Linked DNA regions of Homo sapiens: region 1 is linked to region 2. Evidence: promoter capture Hi-C in 16 types of primary human blood cells and fetal thymus (Javierre and others, 2016). All regions are on one chromosome and are shown on one strand. The core of a region is centred on a gene start or on the middle of the fragment in contact, and the rest is flanking DNA. Distances in the headings are between cores, read along the strand shown. Region 1 overlaps ZNF202 (zinc finger protein 202). Region 2 holds the start of MSANTD2 (Myb/SANT DNA binding domain containing 2).

Region 1 (3,608 bases), core at 86-2,585, 1.1 Mb before region 2:
TAGTGACCTGGGCACCTCTCTATCCCAGTATTGGTCATATTACATAGCCATCGCTCATCTTTCCTGTGAAACTCTTTGAGGTCAGAGACTATTTTCCATCAATCTCCAATACCTATAATAAAGTGCACAATAAATGCATTTAAAATGAATAAAACTCTACTCCAAAGCTTCTTCCTATGGTAACAGGAAGAACCATTGTTTCCTCCATTATGCTTTTACTATCTCTTGATTATTCACCATATCCTGTTAATTCCAACTTCCAAAAAATGTCTTTCGAATCCATCCATCTCTTCATCTCTACTGCCATTTCCCGGTTGAGCCATTATGACCCACTAGAAGGTATTCATAGGAACTTTAAAAAAAATTACAATATCCTCTGCTCCTAAACGGCACTGGCACGTAACAGGCACGGATACATTGGAGAGATGACTTAGTTCAACCTCCATGACTGGTTTTCTTGGTCCTGTCCCCCTCCAGACCAGTGTCCACAAGCAGCTTAAGGGCTCCATCATTTCTCAACCTTTTTGTGCTATACTACAGTTGCCTCACATCCACATTCAAGGTTATCGATCCACTCTTAATAGCTGTGTCTCATCTATTGTTGCCCATCAAATGAGTTTACAGTCAATGATCACATTATCTTCATTCTTTCTCAAAACGCTTCTAATTCATGCTCTTATGACATTTTTTTCATTACCCTCAGTCACTTGCAACATACTTTCACAGTCTATCTTGGATAGCTCCCTAATTCCTAGATCTTCATGTGTAATTTTTCCTCTGCTATCTCTACCTCATGGTGATTTATTTTTTTCTCAAGTGGCTTGTAATTTTTTTATTTTATGTCCATCTTTTTACTTTGGGAGTCCTGAGAGCCCTGGATTTAAATGTGAGCCCCTTGAATGTAATTTCATTTGTTTCTTCCTAAGTGCTAATGGTTTCAATGATCTTGGACAGTTTGCTTTTTTAAGACTCTCCCTCTGTTGCCCAGGCTGGAGTGCAGTAGTACAATCATAGCTCACTACAGCCTGGATCTCCTGGCCTCAAGTGATTTTCCAACCTTGGCCTCCCAAAGCACTGTTACCAGAGGCTGAGCCACCATGCCTGGCCAAATCAGTTTTTATGTTAATTTCTCAGGGTGTTCCTGAATAATGCTTTTGTGTATTATTTAGATCGATGCCTTCAAGTAATGTTTGGCCTACCCAAGGTTCTGGAGAACCCACTTCCTTGCACTTTTCCTGGGTCAGTAGGACGATTTTCAAAGGTCCAGGTTTGCAGGCTGCTTAATTCTGTAACTTTCACACAGCGTCAGCTTCCCAAGTCCTATCTCCCTGTTGGAGTACCAGTATTAAAAGCTCAATCCCTAGAAACCTTATTTTGGTTTGGAATCTCACTGCGCCATGGTAAAGTCAGCTTATACTTATTTTTCTAGTGGTTATTTCTTTTTCCTTCTGGAACCTATGCGCTTTCCTTTAGCTTTTGAGAGAGAGAGACAGAGAGAGAGAGAGAGACAGACACACAGGGAGAGACAGACACACAGGGAGAGACAGCATGGGCTGTCCTGTTCCTGACAGGAACAGGATTTAATAATGGGCAGGAGGCCCATCCACATTAGCTCCACCTGCAATACTCCAAGTAGGTGAGTGGTGAACTTCCTAACATACAAAATCTGCCAATGGCTTCCCAGTGACCTTAGGTTAAAATTTAAACTTCTTAAAATGTGATACACAAAGACCTTCAAAAGCTGGTCCCTGCTACCTCTCCTTCCTTCCATGACTGCCACTCCCATTGAAAGCCACTGCAAGAATTACTGTTCTTTCTTTTCTATACCCTCCCTGGGCTTTCCTGATGCTGTTCACCTTGTCTGAAGTACCCTTCTCCACTCTTCATGTGGTTAACTCTATCCATCTTTCAGAGCTCAGTTTTTCCAAGATGCCTTCCCTGGTCCTCCCAGATGATGCTTCCACAGGAACTTGTATCTCCCCCTATCACAGCATGCACATGTGTCTATTTTTTGTGTCATCAAAACTGTTCATCTTCTGTTGAACTCACTGGACTGTAAAGCTCTGAGGGCAGGGATATGCTGTGCCCAGCTCGATGCCTGGCACACACCAGGCACTCACTTCACATTTGATGAATGCAGAGAATGCTTAGTAAGGTTTTAAAAGTCTGTTTCCAGAAGGATAGATACCATGTTATATTAACCCATATTCATCCATAAGTCTAGCAAACTGTGTGCTGGATAAAGGCATACATAGGGAAAAAAACATTTATTGTTTGGATTGTGAGTAAAACAGAATTCTCTTAGTGGTTCCCAAGATGATGGAACCACAACTCATCACAAGGAATCTTCAGGTTGCACCGGGAATAATCCAAATGCAAGTCACACAACACTTGGCATTTGAAAAAAAAAAAATCATTTTCCATTGAGGATTTAAATCAATTTTAATAAGCGCAAAATCAGACATCAAATAAATGGAACTACAATACTAATTATTTATCCAGACAAAGCTTTCCAAACCCCACCCCAACTCCTACCCCTGGAAGACAGAATTAATACATAGGGTCTTTTGGCTTAATAAAAGGACTTCTAGTATCTTAAAAGTTTGAGAACCGACGTCCAGTGAAGTAGACTTGGAATCCTCATTGTTTTCACGCAGCACTAGGTACAAGAGATTCCACAGTATGGATCCTACAACGTATGCATTGACAGAAGAGTTCCTGCTCTCTCAAAGGGCTTTGCTCTCCAAAGAAAAAAGAACATGTAACAGTGCCACACCAAACTTGCCATTTAAAAATGCCCTTCAGAAATCACAAGCTGAGATTTCTGGTGCTTGTTTTGCATTTACTTTGGCAGCCTAGGAAGATGAAGGAAAACAGATCAGCAATAGAAGGAATGAAGGAAGGAGTCTTTGTGGGGTAAGAGATGGGAAATGAATAGGAGGTACAGCAGTGCTGTGCACAGCACCAAACTGGGTATCCAAAGACATATGCCCCGGCCCCAGATCCCCAAGAAACTGGAGCTTCCCTGAGGGTTTCGTGAAGTAACGTACCCAAGAGCCCTTGTAAAGGATAAAGCCCTCTGCAGATAACCAGTCTCCTAACTCAGTGATTATCTGAGATATGAGAGCTTTATGAACTAAAATGTGTTGTGCAAATGTCAAGATTTAATATTAGAGGCAGAAAACAGATGTTGTGTTTTTATTCTATAATTAATGGGATGTGCTATGCCATAAGTATACCTTGCAATTTGTTGCCTTTGCTATTCTAATACCTTTCTTCAATGTCTGTCCTTGGAAGAGTTCCAGAGTAAGACAAAAACTATAGAGAGAATACAATAGAGAGAATATGAAACCAGGCCAGGATTAAGTAAGAGACTTGGTTCCAGAAGACACTAAAACAGTATCTGCAAAGATACAACCTAGTGTCTTGAGTGTTCCTAGGATGCATAGGATTGGAGAGGAGCTATCAAGGTAAGACCTCTGTACAATCCTCAGGCCAGCTGTCTCTGCCCCTTATCTGAAGGTGTCACGTGGCAGTGAAGACCCAAGCTCAATTCTCTTACAAGAACAGAAAACCACAGGCAATGAAACAATATCTAGTTCTCTACC
Region 2 (3,372 bases), core at 853-3,352:
ACTGGGGAGGATTGTTTGAGCCCAGGAGTTCTTCAGGTTGGGCAAGAGAGGGAGATCCTCTCTCTAAATATAAATAAATAAAAATTAAAATTTAACCTTAATGACGTTGAATAGAACAAATGAGATTCAGAGAAGAGTAGCTTTGTCCTATTAGCTACTACTTTAATGTCTTTGTTAAAAAAAGAGAAAGCTTAAGAAGTCCCAAAGATAAATGTTATCAAATACACTAATTTAAATTTGTAATGGAGTAATTAATGGGTGGCAAATTCCTTGAACAATAGTAGGTTTTAAATATCTTAGTTTGTGGACCCAGTTTTCTAAGCAACAACATCCCCAAAGAAATACTACTGGAGCCAAGACCTGGAGAACTTTGGTGCAATTTCCCTCCTTTAGCTTACTCTAACTCATGATTGCGCCTATTAGACTTTATTATTGCTCTTTAGTGTGATCATTCTTATTTTATAATTGTTCTTGGTGGTTTTTATCCCCCCTCAAGAAGTTCCCAGAAAAAGTGCCAGCTGTATCAGAAAAGAAGTGCACAGATAATAGGATAAGTAGTTCAGTAAAAACTGGGAGAATCCTATCACAATCTTTTTAGCAGCCACTACGATGAGGAAATGAGCTTAACTAAAATACAACTCCTTATCTGCCAATAATACAAATATGAAAGCCTAGAGTCAGTTCTAGTAGCAAAATCTTAACCTGGCTAAGATTTCTAGCCCAAATTAAGCCTCTGCATTTAAACATGCAGGTACACAAGGACGGCCAGATGCACACTGAGAGTTCTACTTGTCACCACATCCGGCACAGAAACTGAAGCAGGGAAAAACTGGCTTTCCTGAAGGAGCTTCCTAAGAAACCGCAGGGCCTCAAGCCAATCTAACTCTGGAGGCATCGACAATCCAAATTCCAGACCAACTCTTGGCCAAGCTAACTTTTATGGTGTACACTAACTCCGCGGTAACAATACACAATCTGGCTACAATCAAGCCTTTCCAATTCTCCAAAGCATCTCTAGTCTTACTCGTCCTTCGTAGCTCAAGATAGAAGCAAAGCGACTGACACAAAGGCCAGTCGTCCCAAGGCGCTTTTTCTATGGCTCCGCTACGGCCACTTATTAACTATTCCTAAACTAGGGGCTCAATGCCCCCCCCTTCTGCCCTTCCTCAATCCTGCCCCGGCCGGTAAGCCTCTGCCTGGGAGCCCCTCCGCCTGGAACAAAGCGAGGGGCCCCGGCGGTGGGGGCAAGAGGCGCCAGCGGCACGGGGACTGCCGCACGGCGCACAATGAGAAACTACCAACTTCAGAGCGCAGGAACATCTCAATTGGCAAGAAAGAGGGGCGGCGGCAGGCACGCCCAACTTCAAACTCAGGAAACCTACGGGCTGGCGGCCATCTGGGAAAAAGCCCCCTTCCCAGGGAGAGAAGAAAAAGGCGGAGGAGATGCGAATCGCCCACCGGGCCCCGGAGGAGAGCCCTGCCCTCAGACCGGCCCCCGCCCCCGAGGCCCGCTTCCCCGCCTTCTCTCTGCCTCTGGTTCGCTGCCCCAGGCCGGGCGGCCGGTTACCTTGATGCGCTCCCGGCACTGGGACGGGGTCCGCTCGTAGCCCAGCTCGGCCAGGGCCCGGGACACGCGCTCGTACATGGCTGGCCCGGGGGCCTTGCTGCCGAACACCGTGCCGGCTCCCTCCAGCTGCTGGTACCGCGCCTCCACCAGCCGCTCGTTGCCCCACACTGCGATGAGCGCGTTCGTCTCGGCTGGCGTCCACGACATGCCCCGGCAGGCGGCGGCGGCGGCTGCCGCAGCCCCGCCACCGCCGCCACCAGGGGAGAAGGAGACCGAGGACGAGGCGGCGCTGCGGCCCCCCAGCCCCAGCCCGAGACCCCCGGACGCCGCTGCCCCCGAGCCCGCCGCACTGCCCGGCCCGAGCGGGGAGGCACCCCGAGGCGTGGAAGGGTCGGACAGCGATGGATTTCCGTCGCTCAGGCCACCAGGAGAAGCCGGGGAAAGCACCTCCATCTTCGGAATTTTTAGCGGCGAGTTGGCGGGCAGCTCCGAGCCACAGGGCGCAGCCATCTTCCAAGCGGCCGCCGCTGCACCGCCCGGAAGTGACGCGCCCGCGCATCCGGCCACCGCGGTCTCCGGGGCTGCCCTCGGGCCTGGCTCGCCCGCGGGCGGATGGCTCCGGGTCTCTGCTGCTGAGGATGTGGCTGCCGGGCGGAGGTCGTCCACTCCCCTGGGCCTTTCTCCGCGAGCCCTCCCACGCCGCCCGCTCCTCTCCCGGGGCGAAGGGCGGGGACGAGGCGCGCCGAAGCCCCGAGCTGAAGAGAAGGGTGGGGGCATGAGGGCGCTGGAGTGAGGAACAGATTGGAGCCTTCCCACTTCCTCTCCAATCTCAGCCCCCGGGAGGAGGGGTGAGGCCCTCGAGGGGGCCCGGAGTTAAGGAGGAATAGACCGTTTCTCTCTCTCCTGTCTCCCCCGCCTCTGCCCGTCTTCCCTCTAAGCCGGCCTCTAGGTGCAGAGGCTGACGTCCAGGATGGGGACCGGGGAAGCCTCTGGAGGGTATATCCGGGAAGGCACCAAGGCTGAAGTGAGAGCGGTTCTGGGGAAGGCTTTAAAAAGCAGATATGGACCAGGGTAGAGTTCGTACGCTGTAGCTTTTCAAGAACACCGATCTCATTAATTAAAGAACAGCAACTATTTAATTCCAGTTATAAACTATTGTTTTCCAGTTAGTCTGGGTAGGTGTGGCCGTTTGTAGAATAGTTAGATTACATTAGTCTATTGCGTTGGTACAGTTGTCTATAGCTTGAGCATATAAAAACTCCTGAGCCCAGCAGAAAAGTTACTTTCCAATACCAGTCTCCATCCTCCGTGCTTTGGAAGTTGCATCGTTTTCCGGTTTTTCGTACTCAAAGAACACTGTCAATTATGACAGCTCTGTGACCTCTGGTAATGAATTAGTGTATTAGTCACTCCTGAAACGTTCCTTAAAGTGCTGGAACTTAACAGTAGCACAGCACATCCAGTACACAGCTGTACCGTATTTCCATATTTTTCAAAGCTGAAAATCTTAATTGGATATCTTGGATCATTAACTTAAAACCTCAGCGGATTTTTCTTTCAAAGCAGACATAACTGAGGATGCTGACCAATGAATGCAAATAAACTATGCAATATTTTTTAAAATAACAAATGTATGTTAGTTTTTTTTAAGCTGAGGTCAACTATGTTTTGGGGGGTATGTGCTTTTTTAAATTATTGTTTTATTTCAATCGATTTTTGGGGGTAACAGGTGGCGTTTGGTTACATGAATAAGGTTTTTAGTGGTGATTTCTGAGATTTTGGTGCGTCCGAGCAATGTACACTGT

The links. The method cuts DNA at HindIII sites, captures the fragments that hold promoters and counts their contacts. A CHiCAGO score of 5 or more calls a contact.
Region 1: a fragment that was not itself captured here is called in contact with the fragment with the promoter of MSANTD2 in region 2 in 1 of 17 cell types (total B cells); the score reaches 5.7 in total B cells.

What each region holds. Positions count from the first base shown.
Region 1 is chr11:123,732,615-123,736,222 of GRCh38, forward strand. All of the region lies in intron 3 of ZNF202 (zinc finger protein 202), which reads right to left. Among named protein-coding and RNA genes, the nearest start is that of ZNF202, 7.2 kb to the right of the region's middle. The HindIII fragment of the contact is 2,341 bases long and covers 166-2,506 here.
Region 2 is chr11:124,798,304-124,801,675 of GRCh38, forward strand. It overlaps MSANTD2 (Myb/SANT DNA binding domain containing 2), which reads right to left and starts at 2,103. Exons shown (of 4, transcript NM_001308027.2): 1 at 1,568-2,103. The coding sequence starts at 2,077. It overlaps MSANTD2-AS1 (MSANTD2 antisense RNA 1), which reads left to right and starts at 2,125. Exons shown (of 5, transcript NR_103862.1): 1 at 2,125-2,953. RefSeq lists silencers at 746-795, 1,026-1,105, 1,506-1,745, 1,786-2,455 and an enhancer at 1,682-2,289. The HindIII fragment of the contact is 4,637 bases long and covers 189-3,372 here.